Regions from separate parts of the Homo sapiens genome. Here region 1 is linked to region 2. The links are contacts of gene promoters, found by promoter capture Hi-C in blood cells and fetal thymus (Javierre and others, 2016). All regions are on one chromosome and are shown on one strand. Each heading gives the region's core, a stretch centred on a gene start or on the middle of the fragment in contact. The rest is flanking DNA. Distances are from core to core; before and after follow the strand shown. Region 1 holds the start of SHANK2 (SH3 and multiple ankyrin repeat domains 2). Region 2 holds the start of KRTAP5-7 (keratin associated protein 5-7).

Evidence for each region. Contacts are between HindIII fragments. The CHiCAGO score rates a contact against its expected background, and 5 or more counts as called.
Region 1: the fragment with the promoter of SHANK2 here is called in contact with the fragment with the promoter of KRTAP5-7 in region 2 in 9 of 17 cell types (total B cells, non-activated CD4 T cells, total CD4 T cells and 6 more); the score reaches 7.4 in total B cells.

What each region holds. Positions count from the first base shown.
Region 1 is chr11:71,250,289-71,255,301 of GRCh38, reverse strand. SHANK2 (SH3 and multiple ankyrin repeat domains 2) reads left to right here and starts at 2,725. Exons shown (of 26, transcript NM_012309.5): 1 at 2,725-2,877. The HindIII fragment of the contact is 2,890 bases long and covers 256-3,145 here.
Region 2 is chr11:71,524,833-71,529,959 of GRCh38, reverse strand. KRTAP5-7 (keratin associated protein 5-7) reads right to left here and starts at 2,693. Exons shown (of 1, transcript NM_001012503.2): 1 at 1,291-2,693. The coding sequence starts at 2,659. The coding sequence ends at 2,162. RefSeq lists enhancers at 1,804-2,303, 2,304-2,805. The HindIII fragment of the contact is 23,305 bases long and covers 1-5,127 here.

The DNA of each region.
Region 1 (5,013 bases), core at 1,476-3,975, 270 kb after region 2:
TGAAGGCAGTGAGCATCTGGGTTAATCTAAGCCACAAAATATTTATAATGTTTTCCCCAGGACCAAAAAGGTGGCTATATCTCACATCCCTGATGGTATGGTGTCCCAGTTTCCAGTTCTCTATAAAACAGTTACTCTTCCCAGAAAGTCCTAGCGTGCTCAGGACCACACAGCGTGTACTCCACAGATGTGGCTGATGGTTTCATGGTTCAGGTTGGACAAGAAAAAAAGACAAGATGACCAGATGGAAAAGCTTACTCCTTTCTGCAAAACCTGGTGAATCCTGGAAGGCAGCTTCCAGAAACAAAACCGGAGGGTTCTGAAACCAGGAAGCCAGGAGGGTCATGTCTTCTTTTCCTAAACTGAACCTAAAACAAGGCACTTGGTGGTGTGTGTGGCTATGGGCCCCCCAGAAATTAGAATGCCAAAAGAGGTCCTACTTCAAATGAGCGGCGGGGGGTAGGTGTTCCCCTCAACCTGAGATGCCCGCTCAGAGCGTTAAGATGTGAATAAAGGCACTGTGGCAGCATTATCTGACCCTGAACCTTTTCATAAGAGCCTTTTTTTTTGGCTGTCAATACTTTTAGTTGACACATAATTGTACGTATTTATGGGTCCAGTGTGAGATGTTGATACACGTATGCAATGTGTAATGATCAAATTAGGGAAATTAGTGTATCCATCACCTGTAACCTTGATTTTCTTTGTTTTGGGATCATAAGAGATTTTTACAGACTTGAAGGATGTTGCTTCATCGGAGCACAAGGCTGAACTGGATATCTCTAAACAGACACAAAGAAACTGGGGCGTAAGCAGGATGCTGTCCTTAAAATGCCGAATGTCGGGGCTCTCACACAGCGCTCTTGTTGGCTAACAGATCAGAAAGACTGGAGGGGGATGGCCCAAGGGGTGTCCACTTGGGTGGAAGGCTGGCAGAGGCCTGCGTCCCTAGGGAAGTATTTCTTGGAGATAGCATAATGGCATCGGTCTTAAACCTTGCATGGAGATAGCCGAAAAATGTTCACAATTGAACTGTGACCAGCTGCCTGGTCTATCTGCAGCAGTGGTTCTAGAAACCTAGGAAGGGGTGTTCCAGGGGTGGGAATCTGGTGAGAGGAGGGAAATATCCTGAGGATAGGTCTTTGAGCTGGGTTTGCAGGGTAAATACACCACTTTATTCAGATGACTTGCCTTCTTTGGTGGGGAGGGTACTGATGGACTGTTATGGAAAGGTAGAGCCCCCACCCCCACTCCCTGCAACCCAGGTCTTGCATCTGCCACCGGCCAACCCAAAGAACATCCGATTGTCCTGCTCACACCTCTCCCAGGCACCCCAGCTTCCATGCCAAACAAAGGATGCCTGCAGGATCCTGTCAGGGCGTCCTTCTTCCTGTTTTGGGGATTATTATTTTTTGATTGATTGACTCCTTTATTCATTCAACAAATATTTTATCAAGTGTATGCTTAAGGAAGCAGCGACGAGAAAGACATTTACATAAGGCAGCTGCCCTCAAGGAGTTACAATATTTATTCCATGTGTGTCCTGAAATATTCAGGCCCCAAACACAACTTTTTTTTTTTTAACCTAAGTGCTTTTAAAGACTTCTTTGAAATGTGGGACAATTATGCAAGCTGAAAAAAAAAAGTATCTAGAGCAAATATTTAACTTTGCCTTTGGTATGTTGAAGTCACCAGCCCATGCAAACCTCTCAGGCATGTCCTGTAAGATAGACTGACTTACACACACACACACACACACACTCACTCTATGTAGGGGGCACAGTTAGGGGTTTGCATAATGCCGGGCTCCAGGGTTCTGGAGACAGTTCTACTCCACAGCTTGGACTCTGATCCCCACCCACACCTTCCAGAATACTGGAAAACTCAGAACACAGAGACCTCAAGAGCTTACTCAGAAACACGCAGCTCGTACTGGGGGAGACTCCCAGTGAATGATTAAGGCCTTGAGAAAATCTATCAGCCGATGGCTCACACGGCGGCCACAGCTCCAAGCTCAGGACCCGCCCCTTTGGGCTTCCGCAAACCTAGCAATCCGGAGTCCTGGATAATAACAGGATTCCTGGAGTCTCCGGAGGGTGCCTTTGGCCTCTGGGATTCACCCGAGCCGTTGGCTTTTGCTCCCCCCACCCCACCCCCTGGCTTTTCTTGGCTTGGAGGGCAGCTGGCGGAGATACCGTTGTGCACCCCTGGGCGGAAGGCGCCCCAGAACTGGTGGCCTGGGCAGCAGACGCCGGCGTATCACCCGGGTACAAAGTTTTCGTTTGCTCTGCAAACGTTTTGATGTGCAGGCAGCCTCTATTTCCAAATCCTATTATTATAAATACTCTGTGGCGGGAGCCAGCTGCGTTCGGGATAACCGTGCAGACCGAACCGGACTTTACAAAAATCAGGGACTTTCTCGTCCGCCGGCTTTGGCCAGGGAGGGGGAGGTCCGTGAGCCACGCAGCCCGGGGCGGGGCAGAGGCGGCCAGGGCGCCCCGCGGTCTCCCGGGGTTGCCACAACAGACCCCACGCGCACGCCCGAGCCGCAGCCGCGGGCGGGAGCGGGGTCGGGGCGGGGGACTGAGGTCCGCGGCGTGGGCGGGGGTGGGGGTCCAGGTCGGGTCGCCCGCGGGTCCTGGGCCGCACGCGTCCTTTCGGCGGCGAGAGGGCCCCTCCCCCACCCTCGCCGGAGCCAGCTCCCGCGCCGGGCGGGGCCGGGTCCTTCCCCACCCCCTGCACCTGAGCCGCGGCGGCGGCTCCTGAGCTCCGGCGGGGCTGGGCGCGGCGCCGCTCGGGTTCCCGCGGCCGATCCAGGTGTGCGCGGACGCTGGCGCTCCCGGGGGGCTCGGACCCGCCCCCGACTCGCCGAGCCAGGTGAGGCGGCGGCCGGGGACGCAGGGCGCGGGCCGGGGAGGACGGGAGGTGGCCCTTGGGCACCCGATCCTGCTCACTGACGGCATTTTGGGGGCATCTCGATTCCGGGAGCACCAACTACCGGGTAAGCGCAGTCCTGGACCCAGAGAGGCTGGAGAGGTGGGCGCTGGGGGGAGTGAGCCGCGTGTCCAGGTGGGGGTCGATTTTCCGTAGAGAGCCCTTCCCCCTGCATGCCTTTCTTCCCGGGCAGGGGCCGGTGTCGAAAGCTTTGGAAGCGGCGTGGGGGCAGAGCGCAGGAAGGAGCCCCCGCTTTATCTCCTGCGCGCATGGACCACGTAGTCTCTGGCGCGTCCTGCCCCTTCCTCTGGAACAGCGCGTGTGGCGCGACCTCCCCCGCTCTCCCGGGGTCTCCTTGCCCCGGGTCACCGCCCGCCAGCCCTAGGACCCGGGCCAGCGAGCCCAGCGGAGGAGCCGGCGCGGGGCCGCCAGGTGGCGCGCGGGGGCGGAGACCCGAACCGTGGCCGCCAGGTCCCCCGAGACCCCGCTGCGGTCACCCTGGCCCTGCACGCAGAGCTCCCATCCAGGCGCGCGCGGCGGCAGCAGCAGCTGTCGCGGAGAGGCCGGGGCCGGCGCGCCTGGTGCGGGCCCGGGGGTGGCGGGTCGGGCGCCCAGGTCCCGGGGGTCGCGCTGAGCCACAGCCGGGTGCCCGACCCCGGCCCGCCGTGCTCACCAGCTGGGATAGGGAGACCCGGCGGGCGCAGCCCGGCCGCCACCGTCCGTGAATTATGCAGGAAGCTGGCACCGGCGCGCTCGAGTTGATCAAGTTTCCCTGGCAACTTTCGCCCGGGCATCCCTCCTCCCCGGCGGCCGGGCAGCTCCGCCCGCCCAGCCCGCGGCCCAGGCGCCTCCACCGGGTGGCCCCGGCCCCGGGCGCCAGGCGCGGGGACCGCTCCCAGAGACGCCGACAGCGCACTCGTCACTTGGGCTGGAGCCGCCGGACTGAGCCAGCAGGTGCGACCACCGCAGCGGGCCTCGCCGCCCGGGTTCGGGGGGATGCGGGGGCTGGGGTGGACCTCGCCGCCAGGGTTCTGGGGCTTGGCGTGGGGGTGCAGCGCGGCGCCCTCCAGGCGGGTCTGCGTGCGGACACCCTGCTCGAGGTGGGTGGGCGCGTGGGCGAGGCTTGCCTTTCCGTGGGGCTGGAGCACCCAGAGGGAGAAAGGGTGGTGCAGGTGACCGTGGGTTTTCGCAGCCGATCTTTTAAAGGGGCTCGGGGCGCCTGGAACTGAGAAGGCGCTCGAGCCAGGCAGGTGAGGGGTGGGTGGTGGGGGGGTCAGGCGAAAGTACGTAAGGCTCTCGGGGGCTGGCAGCTGCTGGCAGGGGCCTGGGCGTCCTCAGAGGCCATCCGAAAATAAAGTGGTTTTCGGGTGGAAATTCGAGGTTGTAAATTGGATAGTTGAGTGACCTCTTTTTCGTTTGAAACTCAAGTTCGAACGTTAATGAGGCCAATCAGCTAATTAAGCTTCCAGATCCAGAGAGGTAATTTCGGAAGTCCCCCGGTGGGGGAGGGCGATTTGATCTCTATCTGGGATGTGGGCCTCGGTTTTGCCGACCCAGCCACAAGGGAAGTTCTGCGCCCCTGGAAAAGGACCTGGCAGATTCAGCCTTAACCCCGGTGCCCTGCGGTCCGCATCACATAGTTAGTGACGCCCTTCTGTGCACTAGGAACCGAGCCTGGTGCCCCAGAGGGTTCAGCAGGTCCAGAACAGCCCCGGGCCGATTGCTTTTGGAGTTTTCCAACTACTTGTGGGTTGGAAACAAGGTTGAGGGTCCTAATAGGGTTGAGCCTGTGGGGGTGGAGTGAGGAGAGCGAGCTCGGCCCCCATCTGGGTTCAGTGTTAATTCTGAGGGAAAGCCGTCGTGTCTGCTCTAAGAGGGGGATTGGTAGGTGGGAGCTGTGGGTTTCTATGCCGGATGTCACTGTCCTCTGAGGGGGCTTGAGGGAGACTCTTGTCCTGATAGGAATCTGGGTGTCCCAGTAGTGCCTGAATGATTCAGCTCCTGGGAAGCACTGTCTATATAAGGCCTCTGATTCCATTATTACACCCAGGAATTCCTTGTTTTCCTGGAAGGAAGAAT
Region 2 (5,127 bases), core at 1,444-3,943:
TCTCACCATTTTTTTTTTCTTTTTTCTGAGACAGAGTTTTGTTCTTGCTGCTCAGGCGGGAGTGCAATGGCGCCACCTCAGCTCACTGCAATCTTTGCCTCCCAGGTTCAAAGGGTTCTCCTGCCTCAGCCTCCCATGTAGCTGGGATTACAGGCATGCACCACCACACCCAGCTAATTTTTTGTATTTAGTAGAGACAGGGTTTCACCATGTTGGTCAGGCTGGTCTCGAACTCCTGACCTCAAGTGATCCACTCGCCTCAGCAGCCATGCACCACCACACCTGGCTAATTTTTTGTATTTAGTAGAGACAGGGTTTCACCATGTTGGTCAGGTTGGTCTCGAACTCCTGACCTCAAGTGATCCACTCGCCTCAGCCTCCCAAAATGCTGGGATTACAGGCATGAGCCACCTTGCCCGGCTGACTCTTTAGTTCTTTTGATGTGACTGCATTAGTCTTAGTTATCATCTCTGCTTTCTGGGATAACAAGATGTTCTAGATTTGTCTTGTTCGCTTCCAGCCCATTCACCAGAGAAGCCAGGTTCCAGGTAGATACAATAAATAGCATTTGAAGATAACAAACAGTCTTGGTGCTAGGAGTGTTCACTGCTACAGGATGGCTCATTATTTCTAAGTCTTCCAATGGAGGAGGAAACTATTTTTATTTGGATAAAAAACATCATGATTTCATATCGATATATCTAATTCAAATTCAGGATGACAAGGTTTTTACTTAACCTCATCAGTTCCACACCAAAAATTCTAGTTCTGATACCAACCTAATTATGCATTTGCTTTTTCCATACAGCATTCACAGCAGAATAACGACACCACTGCTGCCACCATGACTACTAAAAATAGCTTAGGAATTTTATTTTTGTGTTCTTTCTATGCTTAGGACATATCCCACCAATAAATTGCTGTGTTTCCAAATAACTTGAAATAATTCAACTCTATTAATATTGCCTTTTTTTTTTTTTGACGGAGTCTTGCTCTGTCGCCCAGAATGGAGTGCAGTGGCGCGACCTCGACTCATCACAACCTCCCCCTCCCAGGTTGAAGCCATTCTCCTCCCTCAGCCTCCGAAGTAGCCAGGATTACAGACACGTGCCACCACACTCAGCTAATTTTTATATTTTTAGTAGAGACAGGGTTTCACCATGTTGGCCAGTCAGGTCGCAAACTCCTAACCTCAAGTGATCCGCCTGCCTCGGCCTCCCAAAGTGCTGGGATTATAGGCGTGAGCCACTACGCCCGGCCCTTTCAAAATTCTTAAAAAGCAATATTGGCTTGGTGCTAGGAGTGTTTATTTACAGAGGCAACAGGCTGTGTAACAACAAAGACAATCAGAGTAAGTTGGTTACAAAAACTTCCCAAAGGAAGATGGCAGAGGCCTGGACCAGGGAAAGGAGGCAAGTCTGAACTCCCCAGAGTTTTCAGCAGCCTCTTCTGCTTCTGTGGCCCTGGCCTGAGGAACAGTCCTGTCTCCATCAGATCAATAGCTGGAAAGACCTAGGAAGAGAGGGGTTCTGAGAAAAGAGGGGTCAGCCAGGAAGGAGATGAGAGGCAGAGGAGACAGCCAGCCCCATCCTAGCACCTTCCAGCAACATCAGCATCAGACCCACGCAGTCCGAAACACAACAAGAACAAGAAAACAATAGCCATAGCCATAGTAATGACCCCGAACAACAGAGAAATCAGCAAGATATGTGTTTCAGTTTGTCGGCATGGTATTTTTATTAGTTTGCAACTTTTCATTTAAGATAAAGCAGAGTGTTGGACAGGCAAAGCCACTCCAAGGAAGCCTCTTAAACGCCCACCTTGTTGCAGGTGGGACACTCATGCCCAGCTGCTCCAGCTGGAAAAGACAGGACTTCAAGTGGGTTCAGGAGCTCAGGCCTCTGAATACACAAGCAAAGGCAAGGCTAGCGGGTGAGGGGTGATTCAGCCGCAGTTGCAGTTGACTTGGGAAGAGAATTTGTTAGGAGGGAATGGACATTAATTAGGGTGGACTCTCCTTAGGAAAAGGCAGGCAGATATGGCTTCATCTTATAGTGAGGAATGGACCCTGAGCAGTGGTTTGGGGCTCAACGATGAAGGACAGGTCACAGCTTCGGAAAATGGGGTTAGCAGGACTCACATGAGACCTGAGTCCAGAGCCTCAGATCTTACACTGGCAGCACACGGGGACACAGCAGCTAGACTGGGAGCAGCAGGGATTGCAGCAACTGGACTGGCAGCAGGATGACCCACAGCCTGAGGAACAGCAGCAGGGCTTACAGCAGCTGGACTGGCAGCAGCAGGGCTTACAGCAGCTGGACTGGCAGCAGGATGACCCACAGCCTGAGGAGCAGCAGCAGGGCTTATAGCAGCTGCACTGGGAGCAGCCACAAGAACCACAGCCCCCCTTAGAACCCCCACAAGAGCCACAGCCCCCCTTGGAGCCCCCACAGGAGCCACAGCCTCCCTTGGAGCCCCCACAGGAGCCACAGCTGGAGCAGGAACAGGCTGGCACACAGCAGCACACGGGCTTGCAGCAGCAGACGGGCACACAGCAGCTGGAGCCACATCCCCCACAGCCAGAGCCACAGCCCCCACAGCCGGAGCCACAGCCCCCACAGCCGGAGCCACAGCCTTCGGAACAGCCACAGCAGCCCATGGTTCTGGTGGATTGAGGGTGGAGCAGGTAGAGGAGCAGGTGAGAGGGAGGTGCAGGTGTGGAGCCCCCTGAGCCCGGGCTCTTTATATACCTGTCCAGAGGTCAGGCACAATACAGGGTCGCTTCCTTGTGACTGTTTACGCTATTTTTCCAGAGCTCTATTTTTTTTCCTCTTTGCTAGTGACTTCCTCCTGGCTCAGTTGAGCATCTACTTTCTTTGTTTACTAAATTTGTCTTTTTCCCTATTTGTTTTGGCCCCTACAATTGAAACCTCAGCTCCAGGCTGTCTGGTGCTTCCCGCAAAGCTCCAGGGTGCTGGTCACCTGCTCTCTGCTGACCACATGTGACCAATGGGCAACAGCCTTTGCCCACGTGCTCTCATCTTTCCTGTGTTGACTCCCCCAGGAATATTAATTTCACATTTTTAGATTTCAAAATTATCCATGGTCTTTATATTTTACTCATGCCATTCTCAGTTTTGCATTGCTCTAAAGAAATACTTGAAGCTGGGTAATTTATAAAGGAAAGGTTAGAATGGCTCATGGTTCTGCAGGCTGCACAAGCATGGCACCCACCTCTGCTCAGCTTCTGGGCAGGCCCTCAGGGAGCTTTTCCTCATGGTGGAAGGTGAAGCAGGAGCAGGCTCACCACATCGTGAGAGTGGGAGCAAGGGGTGAGGAGGGGCCACACACTTGCGAACAACCAGATCTGAGTGAACACACTCATCACCAAGGAGATGGCGCTAAGCCAGTCATGAGGGATCCGCCCCCATGACCTAAACACCTCCTTGCAGGCCCCTCCTTCAACACTGGGGATTACATTTCGACAAGAGATTTGGAGGGGACATCCCAACTGTATCATTATCCCCTTGACCCCTCAAATCTCATGTCCTTACATTGCAGAATAGAATCATCTCTTCCCAACAGTCCTCTCAATGTCTTGACTCATTCCAACATCAAGTCCAAAGTCCCAAGTCCAAGTCCCTTCCACCAATGAACTTGTGAAAATCAAAACACATTATTTACTTTGAAGATACATGAGGGTGGAGGCATTGGGTAAACATTCCCATTCCAAAAGGGAGAAATCAGCCCAAAGGAAGGGGCTACAGACCCCATGCATGTCTGAAATCCAGCAGGGCAGCCATTAAATCTTAAAGCTCCAAAATAATGTCCTTGGACTCCCAGTCCCACATCCAGGGTACACTGGAGTGAGGGGTGGGCTCCTAAGGCCTTGGGGAACTCCACCCTTGTGGCTTTGCAAGGTTCGCACCCTGCAGCTGCTCTCATGGGTTGGAGTTGTGTGCCTGCAGCTTCTCCATGCTCAAGATGTAAGCTGCCAGTGGCTCTACCATTCTGGGGCCTGGAGGATGGTGTCCTCCTCCCCACAGCTCAATTAAGCAATGCCCCAGTGGGGACTCTGTGTGGGCCTCCTACTCCACATTTCCCCTCTACACTGCCCTAGTATATATCCTCTGTGCGGGCTCTGCCCCTGCAGCAGGCTTCTGCCTGAGTGCCCAGGCTTTCTCATAAATCCTCTGCAATCTAGGTAGAGGATCCCAAGCCTCCTTCACTCTTGTATTCTACGCACCTACAGGCTTAACACCACATGGGAGCTACCAAGGCTTATGGCTTGCACCCTCTGAAGCCAGAGTTACATTTGGGGTCTTTTGAGCTGAGGCTGGAGCTGGAGTAGCCTATGTGTGGGGAGCAGTGCTCCAAGGCTATGCAGGGCAGTGAGGGCCTGGGGTGAGCCCCTGAAACCATGGTGTCCTCCTAGACCTCTAGGTCAGTGATGAGAGGGGCTGTCTCAAACACTTTTGAAATGCATTTGAAGTCTTTTCCAATTGTGTTGGCTATTAGCACTTGGGTTTTTTTGTTTGTTTTTTGAGTCATGCTAATATCTCTAGCAGGTGGTTGCTCTATAGCCTGCTTGGATTCCTCTCCTGATAATGCTTTTTCATTCTCTGCCACATGGCCATGCTGCAAAGTTTCCAAACTTTTACACTTTGATTCCCTTTTAAATATAAATTCCAACTTTAATTCATTTATGTGCTCTTGCATGTGAGAATACGATGTTAGATTCAGTCAGGCCACAGCTTGAATGTTTGCTGCTTAGAAATTTCTTCCACTAGATATCCTAAGTCATCACTCCTAAGTAGAAATTTTCAGAGCCCCCTAGGGCATGAAGCACAATATGGTCAAGCTCTCTGCCAAGGTGTAACACAAGTGATCTTTGTTTTAGTTTTCAGTAAGTTCCTCATTTCCATCTGAGACCTCATCAGGCTGGACTTCATTGTTCTTATCACTTTAATTATTTTGGACACAACCATTTAACCAGTCTCAAAGGAGTTCCCACCTTTTCCTCATCTTTCTGTCTTCTTCTGAGCCCTCCAAAAATCTTCCAATCTCTGGCCATTACCCAGTTCCAAAGTCACCTCCACATTTTCAGGTGACTTTATAGCAACATAC